5 separate regions of the Homo sapiens genome follow, and regions 2, 3, 4 and 5 are each linked to region 1. The links are contacts of gene promoters, found by promoter capture Hi-C in blood cells and fetal thymus (Javierre and others, 2016). All regions are on one chromosome and are shown on one strand. The core of a region is centred on a gene start or on the middle of the fragment in contact, and the rest is flanking DNA. Distances in the headings are between cores, read along the strand shown.

Region 1 (4,456 bases), core at 730-3,229:
ATGGCCTGGCTATTAATGGTGTGTAATTCTTATTGAATGGCTCTTTTTCCACTTAATGGAAAGGCATTATTATGTGAGGCCTGTAAGGGACTAAACCTTTGTATATAAGAATAGGGTCTCAGTTGAAGCTGTGGGTTTTGAACTCTGGAAACAAAGGGAGTTGTTCTGTAACAGGAAATGAGACAGTGCCCCACCGCATGGAGATTCCCAGGTTTGAAACAAAGAAACCACAGAGTATGCTGCAAAGCTGTGTGCCATGGGCAGAAGAGTGAAAGGGGACAGCACCTGTGAGCCTCACGGAAGGGCTGGCCATGGTTTGACCAGCAACTTGAATATTGCTGGCCTGACCGTTCTTGCACAGCACATGTTCACCTTCTAGTCCTTACCCTTTTGTTTAGTAAAGGCTTTTTGGTGGGTTTCATCTTACCTCTTGCTAAAAAGAAAGAGGGCTTTGGGTCCATGTGGGGGCTCTGAGCTTTTATTGGAGAACGGTGTGGCCCTGGAGCTGGCATGGTGGTTCAAATGGTCACCCCTGTGTGATGACTACAGGGAGGAAAGTGGTGAGGGCCACTGTTCAGGTAGCCACACATCTGGACATTCCCTGGACAGTACTGAAGCCTGGAGGTTCAATGTTTTATTTTCACAGAAGAGCTGCTTACCTTAAGAGCATGCTGGACACCCCCTATCCCCTAGACACCCAGGCATGAAACTAAGGAGTCATCTACTCAAACTGTCATCCGAGGTGTCTTTCCTTGAAATAAATACTCAAAAGAAAATAGTGCTACTCTCAAGAACAGCACAGTCCCATAAAACTATTGGTGATGACAGAATGTTCTGTATTTGTGCTGTTCAATATGGTAGCCACTAGCCACAGAGGGTAAATGGACACCTTTTGAAGATGCCACAGCGACAGGCATCATTCACTTTTTTTAGTCTTTTCTTCAAATGGTGTCCATTTACCCTCTGCTCTCTCCTGCAGTCACAGAGGTCATTGTCCCCAGTAGATTGTCACCTGCTTGTACCTGTGCCTGCATTCTCTCCACCTTGACTGCCTTCTGTTTTCCCATCTACCTGCTCATCTCCCACCTGCCCCCATTAGTTTATGTACCCTCCTACCTCAAGAAGCTTTTATTTCTATTTTACATGAAAGTAAAATAGAGCACTTGAACGTAAAATCCTCCAACTGGTGCTGAAGGACTGGTGGCCAGGTTATTTGATATATATGGAATGTCCACTTAGCCTTGCCTTAATTTTCTGACAAAATATAAGACCATTACAAATTCTGGCTTTGTCTTCTAACTTCAGCTTAACTTATTACAAAATAATATTCATGGGAAAAAAAGTGATATCTCACCACTAGATTAATTTTAATCATCTTAAATGATGGATCCTACAGTTTTGGGGCCATTCTGCTGAAATGGAGGACAGTACTGCCACCCAGAAAATGATGTCAGCTCAAGCCTGATCTTTCCTATTCACTCTTTGAAAACTCTAGAGGGTCAAGGGCAACAAGCTTCTTAGAAGGGGCAGTATTGTACTAAGCTTCCTGACCCTCCGCCTTTCAGAAGTCCTGCCTGTGTTTCGTGTGGGGGACCAGCTTCATTGCCCCTGAGCTTGGACCGCACTCCCCAGTCTGGGAATTCGCAGGGCTAAGCGTTCCAGGCCACTGATTGGCTTGCTGTGGATCTGCTAGCAGGAACCTCTGCACACGTGTGAGCACCACTGTCACCCCTTGGGCCACCTCGTGCCAGTCTCTAAGGCTGGGTGGCGGGGCACTGTGACACCAGGGGTGACCAGAGAGCGGCGGCAGCTCACAATGATCAAATGATCGTGAAGAGGGACACCTGCGAACCAAGGCGCCACGGCAGGTGCTGCCCATAGGCACCGCAGGAGGGGATAAAGGGCGAGACCCCCGCCTTCACCACAGTTTTCTCAGCCTGCAGGGAGGGAGGACGTGCGAGGCCGGTGCGTGGAGGCTATGGGCCTGCTGGCCAGTGCTGGTTTGTTGCTGTTGCTGGTCATCGGCCACCCCAGAAGCCTAGGTGAGCCTAGGGACCTGGGCACCAGGACTGCGGAGGAGGCTGAGCGTGCTGGAGAGGGAAGACTTCATTACTCCTTGCCTCAGGAAGTCGGGGTGGTATAGCCACACCTGAGGCATTTGGGAAGAAAGGGTGAGGGGGTGGTGCATGCTCAGATGTCCCCAAAGGAAGGTCTGGGCCAGACTGCCTTTTTGAAATTTTTTGCATTTTAGAGTTCGTTTGTAGGCACACCTGCTAATCATGTGTGTACTAAGGAGCCTCCTCCAAGGAAACCTAACCAAGTAGAAGTAACTTAAAGACAAATATCTCCCTTCCGGAGTAGTATAGGTCATTCCTCAGTATCTTTTGTTTTGTTTGTTTGTTTGAGACAGGGTCTGGCTCTGTCACCCAGGCTGGACTGCAGTGATGCGATCACGGCTCCCTCAAACTCCAGGGCTAATGTGATCCTCCTGCCTCTGCCTCCTGAGTAGCTGGGACCATAGGCACGTACCACCACACTTGGCTAATTTTTACATTTTTTTGTAGAGATGGGGTCTTGTCATGTTGCCCATGGTTCTGACCTCCTGGGTTCAAGTGATCAGCCTACCTGGGCCTCCCAAAGTGCTGGGATTACAGGCGGGAACCACTGCATGTGGCTCCTGGTATCTTTAACACAACCTAAATTTGCATCTTCCCAGAGTAAGCCCCAAGTCACCTACCAGAGGCAGCGCTGGCTCCTTCCTGCCCAGTGGTAACACAGGCTGAAAGGGAGCAGACAGGAGGCAAATTCCGGTCAACCCAGGTGACTGTGGGATATTCTGAAGAAAATATTGAGAGAAGAATGTGGTAGTCTGCAGCTAAGTGCTATCAGAATGTCTGTGCCAGGCCAGGAAAATCCAAATGGGAAATCTTGGTAAAGTGAACTCTTACATAAGGCTCTGTGTGTGCACACACACATGCTCTTCTACACAGGACTGAAGTGTGGAATTCGCATGGTCAACATGAAAAGTAAGGAACCTGCCGTGGGATCTAGATTCTTCTCTAGAATTAGTAGTTGGAGAAATTCAACAGTGACTGGACATCCATGGCAGGTCAGTGCAACAAAGGCATTGATTTCTTAATGAGAAAACAGTGAAATATTTCCTTTGTTTCGAAAGCAAGAATGCACGTTGATATGTAGTTTTTCTCCTGAACCCCTCTAGCTCTCTACCAAAAAGTTTACTTCGTAGGAACTATCTTACTATCCAATTTATGTCGGTATTTTAAGAATATTATGTCAGATTAGAAAAGTTGATCTCCAGTGTTTCCGATGGAGATACATATGTGGGGAGACATATTAGCTGCATTTGTAACTTTCTTCTTGGGTAGGTCTCCCTAAAATCAGATGAGCACCACTTCTGTGGAGGAAGCTTGATTCAAGAAGATCGGGTTGTTACAGCAGCACACTGCCTGGACAGCCTCAGTGAGTAAGTTGTGGATTTCCATTACTTGTCAGGCCTTGATTCCTGGCTATGCGACTGGCAGATTTGTTGCTCTAAATAGCAGGTTCATTCTCAGTCCCTTTCTTACTTTTGCCTCCCAGTGTACCCACCCACTGATCTTCCTGATTCCCAGAAATGTGTGTCTGTCCCAAGATTCCCAGTGCTTCCTGTTCTACTGAATTAAACAATCCCAGACATCATCTATAATTTATGGATTTAGTGCTTGGGTAGAGGTGGTGGTTACTTACTGTAATAAAGCATTAACAAGAAATGTTAAATGGATGCTCCAAAGTTTTAATCATCTGGGTTTAAATCATTAGGAGGGAAAAAACTGCAGAAATTACAAATATTTGACCAGATTAAAAGAGGGTACTAATAAGAGAAAAGAAGGAACAGTTCTAGAAAAAAACTTCTGTATCCTGTTACAAATGGCATTGCATGTGTGAACTATGGTTTGTATATCAAAGAAGAAAAGGATGCAATATTTAAATACTTGACTCAGAAAAATGGAAACATGACTGAAAACTACGATTTTTTCTAGATTAAAAAAAATATGACCATTGGTAATACTCAATAATAAGGAAAACCTTCTTCAAAGACTCAGGGATGCTTAAAGATACATTAATCACTTTTCATTTAATTACATCAAACCAAGAAGACTTGCGTAGGGGAAACAACTACTTATGAAACATTTTTCTTTGGTTTTAGGAAGCAGCTGAAGAATATAACTGTGACTTCTGGGGAGTACAGCCTCTTTCAGAAGGATAAGCAAGAACAGAATATTCCTGTCTCAAAAATTATTACCCATCCTGAATACAACAGCCGTGAATATATGAGTCCTGATATTGCACTGCTGTATCTAAAACACAAAGTCAAGTTTGGTGAGTATGGAGAGTTAGAATATTAAAAATGCAGTGGAGGAAAACTGCTAATTATGTACAAGTTAACTTTAATGTC
Region 2 (4,827 bases), core at 888-3,387, 1.3 Mb before region 1:
TCTACTAACATGATTGTAAGTTTCCTGAGGCCTCCCTGGAAGCCAAGCAGATGTCAGCATCATGCTTCCTCTACAGCCCACAGAACTGTGAGCCAATGAAACCTCTCTTCTTTATAAATTACCCAGTCTTAGGTATCCCTTTATAGCAATACAAGGACAGACAAATACAGGTGGGTAGCCCCGAGAGAGCTCTGCCCCTCCCCTGTCTGAGTGTCTCAAAGCCAGGATCTTTTCCTGGTACCCTCAGGTGCTTGAGGATAAAGTGGCCCCCAGCATGCAGGGTCTATAGAAAGAAAGATGGAGGGAGGTACTGAGCTGAGCACTGCTAGGAAAAGGAAGAACACTTAGCTCACACCTCAAGAAGTTGTGACTAGGTGAGCAAAAGCCCCCATCCCAGTGGGGAAAGTGTTACCTCCCAAGGCACATCCTGGCATAGGAAGATCTGGAGCTCAGGTGGGATTCAGGCTCAGCAGGGCCTCAGGCTCACTATCCTTTGCTCAAAGACACTATCAGAAGAAGATATCAGGAACTTCTCAGCTGTGCCAAACAAAGGCCCAAAGGCCCAGCTGTCTACAATGGAGGGGAGGGACAGCCTTCTCTCTAGGGCCACACTGCCCTATATCGTATGGCCCAGGACCCTCCTTTCAAGTTGGTTCTTTGCATACTCAAAGCATCATCTCATCTGTTACTATATTTGTGACTCACAAGAAGCTTTTGAGTCAGGCAGGGCATGTGTTAACCCAATTTCATAGAAAGGGAAACTGAGGCATAGGGTGGGCTAAGTGATTTGGGCTAGAGTGAGTGGGGGTCAGAACTCAGATCTTCTTGGATCCAAATCAGACACCCTTCTCCCACGTAAAACCCTCACCCTAATCTTAACACTTTTGTGGCTCCATGGCTTCCTCAGTGATTTTAGGAGGAAAAAGGCCACAGCAAGTGTGTTGGTGTGCACATGTGCATGTGTGCCTGTGTGCTCGTGTGCATGCCTGCATGTGTATGTGATGCCTTACTTGCTGAGGGAAGGGCAGGAGGGTTGGCAGTCTCTGATTTTTTGTCTGGATCTCGGACATTTTACGTGCCACTCCTGAGACAGCCAGAGACCTGTAGTGTGTCAGGACAAGGGGTCTCAGGAGGAGACATGTGAAGTAAGGGTGAGTGAAGACCCTGAGTCCCACAGGGAGTCCAGCCTGTTCCCCACAGAGATGTGAGCTCTGCAGTCCTCTGCCCAGGCCAGCCAAGGTTTGGGGAAGGGTCTGGGGGAGGCAGGGGCAGATCCATGGAATTTCTCCTCTGGACATGATTTTGGGAAGAAGAGGAGATCAAATATTATAAAACATCTGCACAGCATGTGGCATCTCATTAGGGGGATGGGACCACACCCATATCTCTCTCTCTCTCTCTCTCTCACACACACACACACACACACACACACACACACACACACACACACGACTCCCTTTTTTAGCTTGGCCTTTCCTCACCAGGAAAACTTTCAAGCATTCTTTTTAGGCTGTAACCAATAGTCATCAATATGTTTTCCAGTGAGACTCAGTGCACACATCCATATATTAACAATTAACAAATTTTTTATGCAAAGCCTTATAATAAAGTCCCAGAAAAGGACACTGTTGGCAAATCTAGGGCTGAGATTTTTGTTCTTGCTGGAATTTTTGGAGTAGAGTGTTTAAACTGCAGACCTAGATCCATTAGGAGGTCGTGACATCAATTTGGTCAGCCCTTTAAAAGAATTGCACAGTGTAGCACAATAGGAAATATCAGAGTGCATCAAAAGTCACAAATGTTAGTATTATGTGGTGAAACATTTGGTTCATTGCCAATATGTGTGTGTATCTAGAAAGTCTCCTTGTAAAATGCCTTGATGACAGTGGGTTACATTAAAAAACATTAAAGACACACTGTTTTTAGAAGCTTTCCTGAAAGTACTTTATATTGAGGAAGGACTAGCTTTTTAGGCTTGTGAAGAAAGGAAAGGTGTGGCTGGAGGTGAAGGGAGGGAGGCCCCGGGCCCCTCAGGGGGTTGGGGGGAAAGGCTCCAGACAAGCTAGCACAGCATGTGGCTTCCTGGGGTCCAGAGCTTTCTGGTCCAGAATTGGGTTGGAGGAGTAGCAGAAGTGTCTCCTGTCCCCCTGATGAAGAAAGAAGAATCTAGTGAATAAGGAAAAGCATGGAAATAGTAGAGACAAGGAGCTCTTGACAAATCCATCAACCACCCTGTGCCTTCATGTCCCCATCAGCAAAATAGGATGGTGGGGGTGATAGACCTTCATGTTCCTGACAAAATGAAACACAGTCAACACAAAACCAAAAGAAACATTGGAAGCTTCTTAAGAGATGACATTCCCTAAATTGATTTTTGGGGAATACAAACTCATGCACAACCACCTATCCTAGAAGTCAGGAAAAGTGTATGCTTTAACCCATTTTGGCTCTTCTTGAGTGCCTGGTGCATGCAGGCACTCTGATAGGTTGTGAATAAACCAGTCCCCATACTCAAGGAGGTTTTCCAAACTAGTTAGGAAGCTAAGAGGGTCTCAGAAGAGGAAGATAACATGGAGAGCTCTAACTAATTGCCCACAGGGTGGTACAAACCCTGAGGGGTACAGCCATTCAGAGAAGGTTGAGGGCAGGATGAGCTTAACATGTACGATGCACAAGGTCAAACAGCTGGAAGTGCAAGAGTAGGGGTGACTTGTCTAAGAGGAAATATAATAGGGAGGGCTTGACTAGTTGAGAATGAGAGCAAGGCTTGGAGGCATAAGAATGTGAGGTCTCACTCAACAAAGGCTGTTGCACGTCTGTAAAGACTCAAAGTCACTGTGCCAGGAACAAGGGTGGATTCACAGAAGATCAAGGCAGCAGTGTCTCTCCTCAGGGTGGGGGTTGCACCAGGGACCAGCAAGTTGATGGCTTCATCTGCAAAAGGAGGTTAAAAGGCAACTGTGCCTCTCAGACTGCAGGCCGACACACTAGGGATTGTGAAATCAATATTTTAATGAATGAGAACAGACTGAAGTAGACTAGAACTTACCAGTGTGCAATGTATTCACACTGGAAATTTAGCTGCACAATAATCCATCCACCGACATGGAGAAATGACCCAAGAAACTGCCAGCAACATGGTCAAGAGTAGAGAATGGCATCCAAGGAAAACATGTCAGGGAGATTCCCTGGACGGAATACCTCTTGGCCTGGCTGGCTCCAGCTGAGATACTGAAATGCAAGATTCCATTAGGTGCATCCGTGCGTGATGGGAATGTGTCAAATATATTCTCACTGTGAGTCACCATCAAAAGACCTGGATGCCATTGACTTAATACCTCCCAAGATTCCTTACAGTGCATCTAGTTGCTGACTGAATGATTGTATGCTTGTTGTAGGCAGCTGCTTATGTGCCCTTGGTGATGAAGAGGTTGGCAGGGCAGGGAGAAATGGGGGGTGGCTGATAAGTCTGGGTTAAAGTTGGAGAGCAGCTGTGGCACATAGCAGCAACACATGCAAACACAGGAGCCGAGGCCTTTCCCTGAAAGAACCTAAAGGGCCTAGAATGTTTTCAACTCTCTTGACACCTTTGACCTGAGACTGCCTTCACTGTCCTAAATCTGAAATGCAAGTTCATAGGACAGGCTGTGGATGAGGAGCTGGAAACTCCCAACCAGCAGGTCTGGAGACATCTGTGATGCCGGGGGCACGGTGGAATTTCCTGGGAGGGAAATGCATCAACCTGTATGTAAGCACAATATGGGGGGGCAGGGGGAGGATCTCTTCACTAAGGAAAAGAGCAAACTGCTTTCTGGGGGTGGCAGCTGTCCCTACGCAGTGGCATTTCTCAGCCTCCAGGAACGAGCCCCAAGAGTTCTGTGTTCCAGGCTCTCCTACCGGGGTGATGAAAATCAACAATTGACACCCCCAGAAGAGGACAAGAGAGACATCTGGCAATCCCTGAAGACGGGCTCCCTCTGCTCTGCCTCACTATTAAACACACACATTGCTCTCCAGATGTGGCCAGTGGTCCCCTCTGAGGGGACACCGGTCAGTGCTGAGGGTTGATTGAGAGATCATGGAAACCTGACTCAAACAACCTCCCCAAAGTGGGCTGGGCAGATTTTCAAAGTGGCGAAACAGAATTCCAAAGGCAGGATGTGCCCAGATGGGCCTTGGACATATGCTGCACAGTATGTCTCAGAGATAAGGTGACAGGGTGGAGAAAGGAGGTGTGCCTGGGGCCACAGACATTGCTCCTCACGCCCCAGCTGGGTGTGAGCCGTCTCAGGCTAGCATGCTCTTTCCCTGCCCTGTTCCTGGTTCTCTGGCTGGCTTTGCAGGTCAAAGGGCCTCCTTCTACCTGGAATGTCTGAAGTGACAGAAGAATTTAGGGGGACACATCTCCCAGAAGACGGTCCTGCCCTGCGTCTACTTGACCCTCTGGTGGCTCATACATTTGGACAGGCTGCCAGCCACCACCCAGCAGGATAGATGGTCCCCAGGATGAGGGACAAATCCCCGAGAGATCAGTCAGTCTTCCCTGTCTCCAACTGCTGGTACCTCCTACCCCTGGCCCTAACGGCCCCTCACTAGGGCTGCCCACTCTTCCTGGGCAGGCGAGAGCCTTAGCAAGGTCGGTAATGTCATAAGGTGGATCTAGGAAATACTGCTGAGTAGGAACTCTTCCCAGGATCCTGAAGAATCAGCAACTGCAGGATCTGCCTGAGCTATCTTCTTTTGGTGCCACAGATGTCTCCTCACCAAACAGGCTTAAGCTGTGGGGCACCCGTGCAGATGGAGTTTGAACACACTGGAAATTTAGCT
Region 3 (4,586 bases), core at 633-3,132, 1.4 Mb before region 1:
ACTGTCTCAAAAAGAAAAGAAAAGGTCTGGGGTTGCTTTTATTAAAAGAAAAAGCCTTACCGAGAATTCCTTTTACCCTTTCTATCTGCCTAAAAATTATTTCTTAGTAACTCCTGTATCATTCCCCCGCTCAAGAGAAGCAAACCTAACTGCTGTCAGGGGGTGTTGGATGGCGATTCTTTCTGGCTACTTCCTGCTGAAAAGGGGTATTGTGTGGGGAACAGCAGTTGTGCCTTCTCCTGAGGTTTATCTAAGGGTTCTTGGAAGAATGGCGTGACCATGTGTAAAAAGTAAAGTAGAGGTTCCTCTTCAAAGACTTTCCGCCCCGTCTAATAAGAAATAAATAGTAACTTCTCTTAAAAGCAAAATTTATTCAAAGACCTGTGCTAACATTCTTAAATATCTGCTAGCCATAATAAAGAAATCAATGTAATTTATGTTCTTAGCTCCCACAATTTAGCCTAAATATTTGCCCTGGCATGCTTATACTGGTCCAAGCAAGCATTAGATCATAGTCTGTTCCTCTTCCTTATTTAAAAGTGTTTTTACCTTTCCCAGCATTCCACAAGTTACTTCCTCCTTCTTTTGTTCTCCTCTACCTTTGCCTCTTTTAAAAAGTTCTAAGTTGCTAGCCAATCGGGACAAATACAGAATGTGAGGTCCCATTCCAGCTATTGGAAACTGGACACAGCAGTAGGGTGGACGCGTCAGGTTATAAATGACCCTGTCTCCTTTGTTCAGTGTACTCTCCTGGCAAAACTGCTGGCGAGTGTACCCTTTCTGCAAGAAGTAAAAATGGCCTTACTAAATAAACTGATGCTCAAGTGCTATTTCTTTACAAGCATTTCAAACACGTGTGGCTTTGCTCGCAGCACCGTTTGGAGTTTGATTGCTTCCAGGTGAAAAGAGATAAATTTTATAAGAAAATTTAAAATATAGGGTTAGAATGTGAGTATTAAGATTACCACCGTGAGTGGGGGTCCTATAGACCCTGAGTTTCATACCTATTAGTTACACCATGGATTGCAATACCAGTATCTCGCTGTACATTACCAGAAACATTAATATAAAAGAAACATTTTCCTTGAGAAAACCATACATTTCCCCTTTGACTTGCCATTAGAGAATAACTTTAAGCTTAGGCCATTTTCCTAACTTGCAATATGCTTGGGAGAAATACATTAGTGGGTGGCTAAAATAACTTTAATGTTAATCTTGACAATTCCTTTCCTTTAATAATTTCATGACTTTCACAGACCCTCTTACAACATACTTAAACTTTCTGACTTGCCCTAAGCATTCATCCTTTAAACAACCAGTCATTTCCTTTTAGGACAAGTATTTACCAATGAAAATCTTTTCTTACATAAAATCTTCCTTTATAATCTTCTCTTTATAGCTTAGAGCACATTATATTACCAACCTTCAGAAAAAGTCCTATTAAACGTAATGATAGTAAAACTTTCATCCTTGCTTCTTATCCACAACTATTACTCCTGCTATAAGCGACACAATTTTGACTAAATCTTTCCTGCAACTATCAATCCTGTTATAAGGTTGATAATTAGGCAAAATATTACAGCAATTAGAATTTTACAACCAGAATTCCACATCTTGGGTGCTACAGTGTGTAGTTCTATTGTAAATAGTAGCGTGAGTATAACAGTTCTTACAAGAGTGGCATAGTGAATAATTTCCATTTAAAACTTTACTTACCAAGATATAACATTTCTCTTTGGGGAGCTACAAAGTTACAAATGCGATTCTATGAATAATTAAAATCTGCCTGCAAATATGCTTTAAAAAGAAGTTTTAATATTTGGTGGTGAACTTTGAGAGTAAAGGGTAGAAATAGCAAAAAGTATCTGGTGAGGCAGGAGTGGGACTGAGTAAGATGAGTAGCCCTCACTCAGTTACTTATCTTTTATGATTTTCAGCTTAAAATCTTCTCTTTCTGGCCCGGCGCGGTGGCTCGCGCCTGTAATCCCAGCACTTTGGGAGGCCAAGGCGGGCGGATCACGAGGTCAGGAGATCGAGACCATCCTGGCTAACACGGTGAAACCCCGTCTGTACTAAAAATACAAAAAAAAAAATTAGCCGGGCGTGGTGATGGGCGCCTGTGGTCCCAGGTACTCCGGAGGCTGAGGCAGGAGAATGGCGTGAACCGTGGGGCGGAGCCTGCAGTGAGCGGAGATCGCGCCACTGCACTCCAGCCTGGGCGACAGGGAGCCTCCGTCTCAAAAACAACAACAACAACAAGAACAACAACAACAACAACAAGAAAAAGAAAAAGATCTCTTTCTCCGCATTGATATTCAGGATATTTCTCTGGGCTGTTAGGGGCTGCTCCCTCAGCTCTTCAGGCTTTGACTTGAGTGTGATGTATTTAGAAGTCGATTCCTGTAACTTTTACTGCCGAGGGGGTTGAAAGAAGAACAGTGTAGGGCCCTTCCCAGCTTGGCTTAGGGAAGGAGACAGAGATGAGAGTTTGTACTAATACCAAATTTCCTGGGTTAAATAAAGGTGATCCTATTTTATTTCTGTAGGGGAATACTGATGTTTAATTTCTTTTTTGGAGCCTTCCTAGATTAGAAGGGCTTGAAGTGCATTAATGCCTTAAAGCTTCCTTGCCTCTGACTTAGCTTTGCCTGATTAGCCATTCTATTTCCTTTGGCTACCTTATCTGTTTCCTTTTGATGTCCCCTATAACGCATGACTGCTATTTTTTGTGGAAGAAAAACTGAGGATAATAACCTGCCAATTTCCTGGCAATATTTTATAGGAGATTCATTAGTGGTAAGAAAATGCCTTTCCTTTTGAATCGCAGCATGAGTATGGAGAGTTAAGAAAGCATACTTGGAGTTAGTATAAATGGCAGCTACCTTCCCCTTGCTTAATTTAAGTGCTCTTGTAAGAGCTATTAGCTCAGCTAATTCAGCACTTGTGCCTGGGGAGAGACGTTAAGAGTGACGACTGCTTATCCTGCCTTATGTACTTCTTGCTTTACCAGCTGTTTGTTAGCTAAGAGCTCCCCCTAGAGGACAGTAATCCTCACACATTATGTGAAGTGTAAACAGTTAAATTATTTCCTAGGGTTAACTTGGAGGCTTTTCTGACTAGTAGAGTTATTATGACTTGGAAGCATGTGTAAATAGGTCCTCCTAACTACAACTATGGTTGAGAAAAATATTGGATTAGAGTTTTTCCTGAGACACCCCTTACGGTCGTACTATGGGAAGAGGAGAGGCCTGGATTAGAGAGGAGAAAAGGGAGAGACTGGCTCTAATGTTTAGAAGGAGGTCTACTTTCCTTCCTTTAATTTCCAGAATTAGCCGGGGCTCCTGTGCTATAATGGCAGTTTGAGCCACTGAAGCCAGGGTTTGAGCCCCAGGACCCATCAGTCCTGCGGGACCATCTGTGAGACTGGTCCTGAACCCAGTGGCCTCCATCTCTGGGGGCAGTTCCATCTTCAGTGGTCTCTGCCACAGCCTGGACAGGGTTGAGGTGGCTTTGTCTTGCTTCCTGGGGGTTCCTTTTTAAAATGCCCTGGGCTGCCGCACCAATAGCAACTAGCGAATGCACCTTGGGGATCCTGGATTTTGCAAACCTGCAAAGCAGCTGCTAGAGCCTCTGTCCTTCTCTTGAGCTTTCTCTCTTTCTTTTGGGCCTCCTCCTGGTTCCTGTTACAAAAGACCAAAGTGGCTACCTTCAGGAGGTTCTCTAAGGTGCTATCTGGTCTTATAGCCTGCTTTTGTATTCCTTTTAATATCGGGAGCTGCCTGTGTAATAAACGTGTCCTTTAGAATGAGCTGTCCCTCGACTGAATCAGGGTATAAAGAGGTGTACTTTATTAGTGCCTCTCTTAGCCTTTCCGTAAAGGCTAGAGGATTCTCATCTGGCTTTTGGTTTATCCTAGACAGTTTAGCGTAATTGAGAGGTTTGGCCCTGGTCTTCCATAGGCCCTTTAATATACATCTTAAAATGTGCCTCCTTTTCCATTCATCTCTTGAGTTATTGGGGTCCCAATCGGGGTTGTTTACCAGAACTGCTTCCCTTCCTAGTGGGAAAGGAGTCTACACGATTTTTTCGCTTTCCCTATCTGCGTTCTTCCCTTTTGGTATATTATAGGAGATATATTGCTCATCCCCGAAATCTCTGCTGCTTGCAGAATTGCCTGCTTTTCAGCTGCTGTGAGGGTATGGTTTAGGAGCAGCATAACATCCCTCCATGTGAGGTGAAACACCTGAGTTAAATTTTGGAAAGCTTCTATATACCTATCAGTGTCGTTAGAAAATCGGCCTAAGTTTCGCTTTATTTGCTTAAGGTCTTGTAATGAGAAGGGAACTTGAAGGGGCCCAAAATAAGGGGGATCCTCAGATGGTTCCCCTGGAAGTTGCTTTTCTAATTTGGGGGAACTGTTCTCCCTGGGCCTGCCCGATGTGATTGCTAAAAGACCTGGGTTGATCTTAAAATGCTTGCACGGGTTTTGTAAAAACACCATGCCCTTGTGTAAAAGAAAATGAGTCACTTATTTCTTCAAAGTCCTGAGGTTAAGGAAGTTCCAGTGTTTCAGAGTGCACTCCAGC
Region 4 (4,377 bases), core at 1,820-4,319, 1.3 Mb before region 1:
ACAGTCCAATGTCCATCCATATGGGACTGATCAAATAATTAATGGTACATCCACACCACACAACTACATGGAAATTGAACAACTCAGAGATTCTGAATTGTAACAGAACAGCTGGGTCTACTCCCAGGGTGGTACCCCCTGAGCCACATAAAAACAAGATGAGGCTTGTTGAATAGAATGGAACATTTTAAACCCATGCCTTTCCTTGCAAATCTGTGCTTCACGTTTTAAAAGCAACCTCTTACACAAATTGTAGCTGCCTAATTTTCAAGAAGATCATTCACCCTTTTGCTGTCTGATGGGATTCTGCGAGGTTTCTTTTGTTGTTGTTATTGTTTTTCTGGATAGCAACTGTTAACCATTGTAATGTATTTCACTTTTGTTGTCCTTTGTGTATATTTACCTACGTTTTACAAAATTGGTATCGCACTATTCATCATGAACCTTTTTCCCTTGAGTTTTCCCCAACATTTTATTGTGAAAATTTTTAAACAGAAAAGTTGAAAAATTGTACAGCGAGCAGCCATATATCTACCACTTAGATTCTCATTACCATTCTATGATATTTGCCTATCACTTATCTGTCCTTTTATCCATTCCTCTATGCACCTATTAATCCATCTTACTTTTTTAAGGCATCTCAAAGCAAGTTGTAGACATTACTACACTTAGCACTTCAGCATGCATATCATTAACTAGAGTTCAATATTTGTTTATAGTTTTTTAGATAACATTTATGTACAATTAAATACATACATTTTTAATGTAACATTAGATGAATTTTTACAAATATATATACCTGTGCAACCTAAATCCCTATAATATATAAAACATTATAATCACTCTAGAAAGTTTCCTCATGTCTGGGGTTGCCAGATTTAGAAGGAAAAATAATAATAAGGTGCCCAGTTACATTTGAATTTCAGATAAATAATGGCTTTGTGTGTTTGTGTGTGTGTGTGTGTGTGTGTGTGTGTGTGTGTGTGTGTTTAAGTATGCCCCCACTGCTGCATGAGAAATTCTTGTCCTAAAAAAATCATTTGTTGCCGAGCTGGGCATGATGGCTCACACCTGTAATCTCAGCACTTCGGGAGGCCATGGCAGGAGGATTGCTTGTGGTCAGAGGTTCGAGACCAGCCTGGGCAATATAGCAAGGCTCAGTCTCTACAAAAAAAGAAAAAGAAATATTAGCCAGTTGTGGTGGTGCACACTTGTAGTCCTAGCTACTTGGGTGCTTGAGGTGGGAGGATCACAGGACCCCAGGAGTTTGAGGCTGCAGTGAGCTATGATCACACCACTGCATTCCAGAGTGAGACCTTTTCTCAAAAAAAAAAAAATACTCATTGTTTATCTGAAATTCAAGTTTAACTGGGCATCTTGTATTTTGTCTAGCAACTCCACAAATAACCCTTCCTAGTCAATCCTGAATCCTTTATCCTCTAGATGCATCTACTGTCTGATTTTCTTTTTGTCATCTGTGATGGTTAATATTAGTTGTCAAGTTGATTGGATTGAAGGATGCCAAGATAGCTGGTAAGCATTGTTTCTGGATGTGTCTGTGAGCGTGTTGCTAGAGGAGATTGACATTTGAGTCAGTGGACTGGGAGAGGAAGATCCACCCTCAATGTGGGTGGACACCATCCAATCGGCTGCCAGTGTGGCTAGAACAAAGCAGGCAGAAGAAGGTGGGATAAGCTGGCTTGCTGAGTCTTCTGGCTGCCTTCTTTCTCCCGTGCTGGATGCCTTCTTCTGCTCCTCCTGCCCTTGGACATCAAACTCCAGGTTCTTTGGCTTTTGGACTCTGGAACTCGCACCATTGGTTTTCCAGGGTCTTTCAGTCCTTTGCCCACAGACTGAAGACTGCACCGTCAGCCTCTCCAGTTTGAGGCTTTCGGACTTGGACTGAACCACTACCAGCTTCTCTCTTCCCCAGCTTGCCGATAGCCTATCATGGGACTTTGCTTTGTAATTGTGTGAGCCAATTCTCCCTAATAAACTCACACACACACACCCTATTAGTTCTGTCCCTCTGGAAAACCCTGACTAATACAAGATCATAGATTAGTTCTGCCTGTTTTACAAGGATCTAACTTCATAAATTGGAATCATAAAGTATGTCTCTTTTGTGTTATACTTCTTTCACCAAAATAGCATTTTCAAGATTTATTCATGCTATTTTATCTAACATTAGTTTGTACTACTTTATAAATTTGCCACAGTTTTTCCTACCGATGTACACCTGGATTGTTTTCAGTTCAGGGCTATTATAAATAGAGCTTCTACAGACATTTTTGTACAAGTCTTTTTGTGGACTATTTTTTTTTATTTCTCTTGGGCAAATACCTAAAAATGTAATAGCTTGGTTACAGGGTATATGTATATTCAGTTTCCTAAGAAACAGGTAGATCTTTTCAAAGTAACTATACAATTTAACATTCCCACCAACAGTGCATGAAAGTTCAGGTTGTTGCAAATCCTGGCCAACATTTTGTGTTTCAGTGTTTTTATTTTTAGTCATTCTGGTAGGTGTGTAGTGGTTTTTCATTGTGGTTTTAATTTGTATTTTTCTAACAATTAATGATGTTAAGTACTTTTTAATGTTCTTGTTGGTCATTCATATATATTAATTTGTAAAATGTCTATTGAAATGTTTTGCCTATTTTTAAAAGTTGGGTTGTCTTTTTGTTATTGAGTTAAGGAGATTTATTTATTTATTTATTTATTTATTTATTTATTTATTTATTTTTGAGACGGGGTCTCACTATGTTGCTCAGGCTGGCCTTGAACTCCTGGGCTCAAGCGATCTGCCTGCTTTGGCCTCCCAAAGTTCCAGGATTACAGGTGTAAGCCACCCCACCTGGTCAGGAGTTTTTTTAAAATATATTCTGTTTATCAGTTATTTGTCAGATATATGTCTTGCAAAATATTTCCCTATGTCTTGTCTTTTTTCTTAATAGTGTGTTTGAAGAACAGAATTTTTTTTTATTTTTATGAGGTTTCATTTATCATTTATTGCTTTTTATATCCTAACAAACTTTTACCTATGTCCAATTCACAAAGATATTCTTTTGTTTTCATCTGGAGACTTTATAATTATAACTTTTATGTTTAGGTCTATGCTCCACTTGAATTAATTTTTGTGTATGGTGTGAGGCAAGGGTAGAGATTCATTTATTTCTGTAGAGAGATACCTAGTTGTTCCAGAACTATTTCTTAAAGAATTTTCTTTTCCCATTGGCACCTTGTCAAGAACCAAATGGCCATGGTATGCATCTGTTTGGGAGTTCTCTATTTATTCCATTGACTTACTTGTTTATCTTTATCCCAGTACCTCCAGTAAAGTTTTGATTTCTGTAACTTCAGAATAAGTCTTAAGTCCAGTAGTGTAAGTGCCCCACCTTTATTATCCCTTTCCAAGGTTGTCTTGGATATTTTAAGTCCTTTGCTTTTTCATATAAAATTTAGAATCCTATGAATAAACCTGATGGGTTTTAAAATTTTTAAAATTTTTGTTTTATCAAATATGTTTTCTGGGCCAGGTGCAGTGGCTCACTTGTAATCCTAGTACTTTGGGAGGCTGAGGCAGGCAGATCACCTGAGGTCAGAAGTTCGAGACCAGCCTGGCCAACATGGTGAAACCCTGTCTCTACTAAAAATACAAAAATTAGCCAGGTATGGTGATGGATGCCTGTAATTCCAGCTACTCAGAAGGCTGAGGGAGGAGAATTGCTTGAACCTGGGAGGTGGAGATTGCAGTGAGCCGAGATTGTGCCACTGAACTCCAGCTTGGGCAACAGAGTGAGACTGTCTCAAAAAAAAAAAGATTTTCTGAATATATTGAAATGAGTTTTCTCATCTTGTCATGAGATGAAAATTTTTTTCTTTGCTCTACGGTTGTGGCGAATGTGCTACTATTATTGTATTGTAGTCTATCTCTACCTTCAGAGATAGTAATGTTCGTTTTATATACTTGGAAGCTCCAGTGTTGAGTGCACAGATATTTCTAATTATTATATCCTCTTGCTAAATGGACCCCTTTGTCATTATGTAGTGACCTTCTTTGTCTCTTTGCAATCTTTGATTTGTGTCTCTATAGGTGAAGTGGGTTTCTTATAGGCGGCATATAGTTGGGTCTTATTTCTTTATTTGTTCAGCCACTCTATGCCTTTTAATTATAGAATTGAGTCCATTTACATTCAGTGTTGTTACTGAAAAGGTAGGACTTATTAGTGCCATTTTCTTCCTTATTTTCTGATTGTTTTGTAACTCCTCTCTTTCTTCCTTTTCTTACTGTCTTTCTTTGTAGTTATTTTCTCTGGTAGTATGTTTTAATTGATCACTTGTTATTTTTAGTGAATCTGTTGTTGGTTTTTGTAC
Region 5 (4,304 bases), core at 1,482-3,981, 1.3 Mb before region 1:
ACTATTTCTTCCCTAAACAAATGAATATCTTTTGACTTACAAATAGATATGATATCTTTTGACTTATAATAGATGAAAATTACATTACTATTATAGAACCAAACTTGGGTCTGCTCTCCCGGTACAGTAAAACCAGATATCTACAGTGAAGTTTTGCAGCAATAGAAGGAAAAGCATTTATTTGTAGGGTGCCAAACAAAAACGACTAGACAGCTAAAAACCCGTGTGGCTAGAACTGCTAGTAAGAGGGAGAATGATATAAAAACAGAATTAGAGAGGAAAGCAAGGGGCGAGATTACTGAGGGCATTGGGGTGAGATGGAGCAGGAGCCCCCTCTCTAGAGGCCTGAAAACCCCAAGCATGGAAATAAAGAAAAATCTGGAGTTCCTTAAAGGGAAATTCCAGGAACCTAGCTAGCCCCAGAAGTAAATAAGAAATTTGTCAAACAAAAAGGTAATAGTAGTCTAAAGCAATAGCCAAGGAAGTTAGAGTTCCAGAGATGTTTGCTTTCCTTATGGAAACTAAAGATAACATCTTAACATATGTCCCTGAGTTGTCTTTCAGGGCCCTCACTGAATGGATCTGCTGGCCTGTAGACCTCAGATAAGTGGAAATTGAAAACTGAACTCTGACCACATTCTTTGTCCTAAAATTTTTCCAGAGGGGCTTAGAGAATGTCACAGTCCCCTGGGGGCTCTGGGGACACAGAGCCAAACTATATCATTCTGCTTGACATTTTTCTGCTGATCCCAGTTTTTTTTTTTAAAAAGCTTTTCCTCCTAAACCAATTGCAAATGAGAAAGTCTTTGAATCTACCTATGACATGTAAGCCTGCTTCACGATATCCCGCCCTTTTAGGCCTAAGCCAACATGTAACCTCCATGCATTGATTTACAATTTTGCCTGTAGCTTTTGCCTGTGCTACAGGCAAAATCATAAAACAATACATGGAGGTTACATCTACCCCTGCTTTTAAAAATCCCAGCCTGCAAGCCATCCGGGAGTTCAGGTCTTAAGCTTGAGCTGCCCTGATTCTGCTTGCTTGACGCCCTGCAATCAGTGCCTCACTTTCTCTCACTGCTATCCCAGTGTCAGTGATTGGCTTTACTGAGCCAGGTGAGTAGATCGAAGTTCAGTTCTATAACATGTCTCTCTTTTGTCTTAAAATAACCCAAGTTTATTTTTGGCTTAAGGGCTTTTGAACTTTCTATTCTTGAAGCACTCTTACTCAGATATTCATTGAAGTTGGTCTATTTAGGGGAGAAGGCATTGAGAAAAAGATAATTAAAAATGATTTTTTAGGCTTTTGGTTTGATCAACTTGGATGGATGGTGGTTTTCCCTTTACTGAGGTGTGAATAGTGGGGGAGGAGATGTGGAATTTGAGATGTCTGTTACTAGCTTACGTTTATAGAATGCTTAAGTATTGTATAACAAATTATCCTGAAACTTAGTGGCGTAAAGCAGCATTTATTATCTCATTGTTTCTGGAGATTAGAAATCTAGTTGTGGAGTAGCTGGGTCCTCTAGCTCTGGGACTCTTGCAGGGCTGCAGTTCTAGGACTCAACTGGGAAGGATTGTCTTCCTAGCTCCCTTGGGTGGTTGCCAGCAGAATTCACTTTCTTGCAGGTTGTTGAACTAAGGTTTCATTTACTCACAAACTGTCAGCCAGAGGTCTCCCTCAGTTCCTTGCCACATGGACCTCTCCATAGAGCAGCTCACAACATGGCATGACTTCATCAGAGAAGGCAAGACACAGTGCTAGCAAGATGGAAGTCACAGTCTTTAGTAACCTAATCACAGAAGCCATGTTAAATCCGTATTAGTTGGGGTCCTCCAGAGAAACTGAACCAATGGGATATATATGTATATGTGTGTGTGTGTGTGTGTGTGTGTGTGTGTGTGTATATATCTATATCTATATCTATATCTATATCAAGATGTATTATGAGGGATTAGCTCATGTGATACGGAGGCTATCTGCAAGCTGGAGGGCCAGGAAAGCCAGTAGTGTAGTTCCACCCTAAACTTGAAGACCTAAGAACCAGAAGCAAAGATGTTCAACGGCAGGAGAAAATGGATGTCCTTGCTGAAACAGAGTAAATTTGTCCTTTTTTTTTTAGAGGGAGTCTTGCTTTGTCATCCAGGCTGGAGTGCAGTGGTGCAATCTCAGCACACTGCAGCCTCCACCTCCTGGGTTCAACCGATTCTCCTGTCTCAGCCTCCTGAGTAGCTGGGACTACAGGCACCCGTCACCAGGCCCAGCTAATTTTTGTATTTTTAGTAGAGACAGGATTTCGCCATGTTGATCAGGCTGGTCTTGAACTCCTGACCTTGAGTGATTTGCCCACCTCAGCCTCCCAAAGTGCTGGGATTACAGGTGTGAACCACAGCACCTGGCCAGTTTGTCCTTTCACTATCTTTTTGTTCTATCTGGGTCCTCAATGGATTGGATGATACCCACTTACATTGGTGAGTGCAATCTTCTTTACTCAGTCTACTGATTCAAATGCCAATGTCTTACGGAAATATCCTCAAAGATACACTGAGAAATAATATTATACCTGCTATGCGGGCATCCCTCAGCCTCATGAAGTTGACATTAAAAAATTAACTGTCACACCCTCACTTTTGCCAAATTCCATGTATTAGAAGCAAGTCATTAGGCTCAGCCCACACTCTAGGGGAAGGAATTATACAAGGGCTGATCACCAAGAGGTGGAGACCACTGGGAGCTATGTCTGAAGCTGTCTATCACAGGTATGTGGGCACTATCCTAAAATGCTTTACATGTCTTAAGTCACATAATCCTTCCAGCACAGCTTAAGATAGATATGCTATTATTGACTCAATTTCACAAATGAGATATCAAGAAGTAAAGTAACTTGCCTGTGGTCAAACAGCTAAAGTCAGTGGGGTTTGGAGATTTGAACCTAAGCTGTCTTGGTTCAGCATCTGTATTCTTAACCTGTTTGCTGCACTATTTGAAATGGAGGCGTCCAGTAAGAGCTGGAATCTGGACTTCTTGGGAGAGGATTGGACTGGCAAAAGAGATTGGGAGGATGAAATTAACGAATCCTAGAAGAATCACAACTGATTTTCAATTTGTTTCTCTTTTGCACCCAGACTTCTCTCCAGTGCCAAGGAGATAACTTTTCTCCTAGCATCTTTGTAACAGTGAAAAGGAGGCCTAGCTCAACAAACTCCATTTTGCTCCTAACACCCCCCTTCCCCCTCCAGGTGGTACCTTTTAGATTAACTAATTTTTATTATCTCTGCATGAAGGCCAAGAAAATGATATGATGGAAGGAATTTAGTTTGTAGTTTAACTTTAAAGCAAGGATAATAGGATGCTAGTTCCTTCCCAAAACTAACCTCCAAGGAGGTAAGGAGTGTGTACATACAAGGAACAATGTTATTTTAAAGATTTATGGGATCCTAGCTTTCACTCGGTATATGAAAAAATAAAATAATAATAAGAAATATATAATTAAAGATTTATAGGAGCATTGTGACCTGACCAAGGACAAAGAAGTTTTCCAACTCCCTCTCAGATGCTCTCTGCTGCCCAGATGCCTATAACCATCAGTCACCTCTTGAACTCCATCTCCTTCTACCCTCTTCCCTTAACAATAAAGGGACCGGAAATGCACATTGCCTTAAGACAGTTCTTTAGGACATTAGTCCATCATCTTCTCGGTTGAGCAGATAAACTGAGTTATTGCCCTCTTGCCCCAACACCTTGTCTCGTGACTTATTGACTGTCCTGCAGTGAGCAATACCAGCTTAGACTCCACTACATTATCTTGTAGTATTCATCTGTTCCCTTACTTTTGACAAGTGTTTACTGACTACCAACTATGTGTAAGGAAAGTGCTAGATCCTAGGGAATATATTTTTAGCTCTCTGGATACAGAAGATGAAATTTAGTTTGAGAAGTTATTGAACAACTTGTTCAAAACATCTACTTAACTGTCATCTATTTCAACTTGAACTGCCTTTCTATTAAATGTACCACTATTAAATGTTGTGATGGTACTAGAAAATCAGCAATTTGTAAAGCATTTGCACAAATTCTAACAAGGCTTACCACTTCGGCTTTTTCTATTATCTACTTAGCAATCAAAGCAACGCCTTAATTTAACGTATGATATTGAAAATAATTTTACAATATTTCCAATTAAGTTAATTTTCACATTGCTTTTGTGCTCTTTGTCATCACATGGAGAATGATGAATTCTATTTTACATTTCATTAGTGAACATAAGGTGTGTTTTTCCATTTGGGTCACTATTAGCTCTCTA

Evidence for each region. Contacts are between HindIII fragments. The CHiCAGO score rates a contact against its expected background, and 5 or more counts as called.
Region 2: a contact is called between a fragment that was not itself captured here and the fragment with the promoter of OVCH1 in region 1, in 8 of 17 cell types (naive CD4 T cells, activated CD4 T cells, naive CD8 T cells and 5 more). The highest score is 9.5, in naive CD4 T cells.
Region 3: a contact is called between a fragment that was not itself captured here and the fragment with the promoter of OVCH1 in region 1, in 6 of 17 cell types (non-activated CD4 T cells, naive CD4 T cells, M1 macrophages and 3 more). The highest score is 8.5, in non-activated CD4 T cells.
Region 4: a fragment that was not itself captured here is called in contact with the fragment with the promoter of OVCH1 in region 1 in 14 of 17 cell types (total CD4 T cells, naive CD4 T cells, activated CD4 T cells and 11 more); the score reaches 17.0 in total CD4 T cells.
Region 5: a contact is called between a fragment that was not itself captured here and the fragment with the promoter of OVCH1 in region 1, in 3 of 17 cell types (total CD4 T cells, naive B cells and total B cells). The highest score is 9.2, in total CD4 T cells.

Annotation. Positions count from the first base shown.
Region 1 is chr12:29,495,209-29,499,664 of GRCh38, reverse strand. It overlaps OVCH1 (ovochymase 1), which reads left to right and starts at 1,979. Exons shown (of 26, transcript NM_001353179.2): 1 at 1,979-2,042; 2 at 2,991-3,109; 3 at 3,387-3,484; 4 at 4,208-4,380. The coding sequence starts at 1,979. The HindIII fragment of the contact is 1,885 bases long and covers 1,545-3,429 here.
Region 2 is chr12:30,827,319-30,832,145 of GRCh38, reverse strand. No RefSeq gene overlaps it. Among named protein-coding and RNA genes, the nearest start is that of LINC00941, 34 kb to the right of the region's middle. The HindIII fragment of the contact is 412 bases long and covers 1,932-2,343 here.
Region 3 is chr12:30,845,819-30,850,404 of GRCh38, reverse strand. No RefSeq gene overlaps it. Among named protein-coding and RNA genes, the nearest start is that of LINC00941, 52 kb to the right of the region's middle. RefSeq lists an enhancer at 1,522-2,066. The HindIII fragment of the contact is 1,485 bases long and covers 1,140-2,624 here.
Region 4 is chr12:30,809,446-30,813,822 of GRCh38, reverse strand. No RefSeq gene overlaps it. Among named protein-coding and RNA genes, the nearest start is that of LINC00941, 16 kb to the right of the region's middle. The HindIII fragment of the contact is 7,474 bases long and covers 1-4,377 here.
Region 5 is chr12:30,787,665-30,791,968 of GRCh38, reverse strand. No RefSeq gene overlaps it. Among named protein-coding and RNA genes, the nearest start is that of LINC00941, 5.9 kb to the left of the region's middle. The HindIII fragment of the contact is 3,423 bases long and covers 1,020-4,304 here.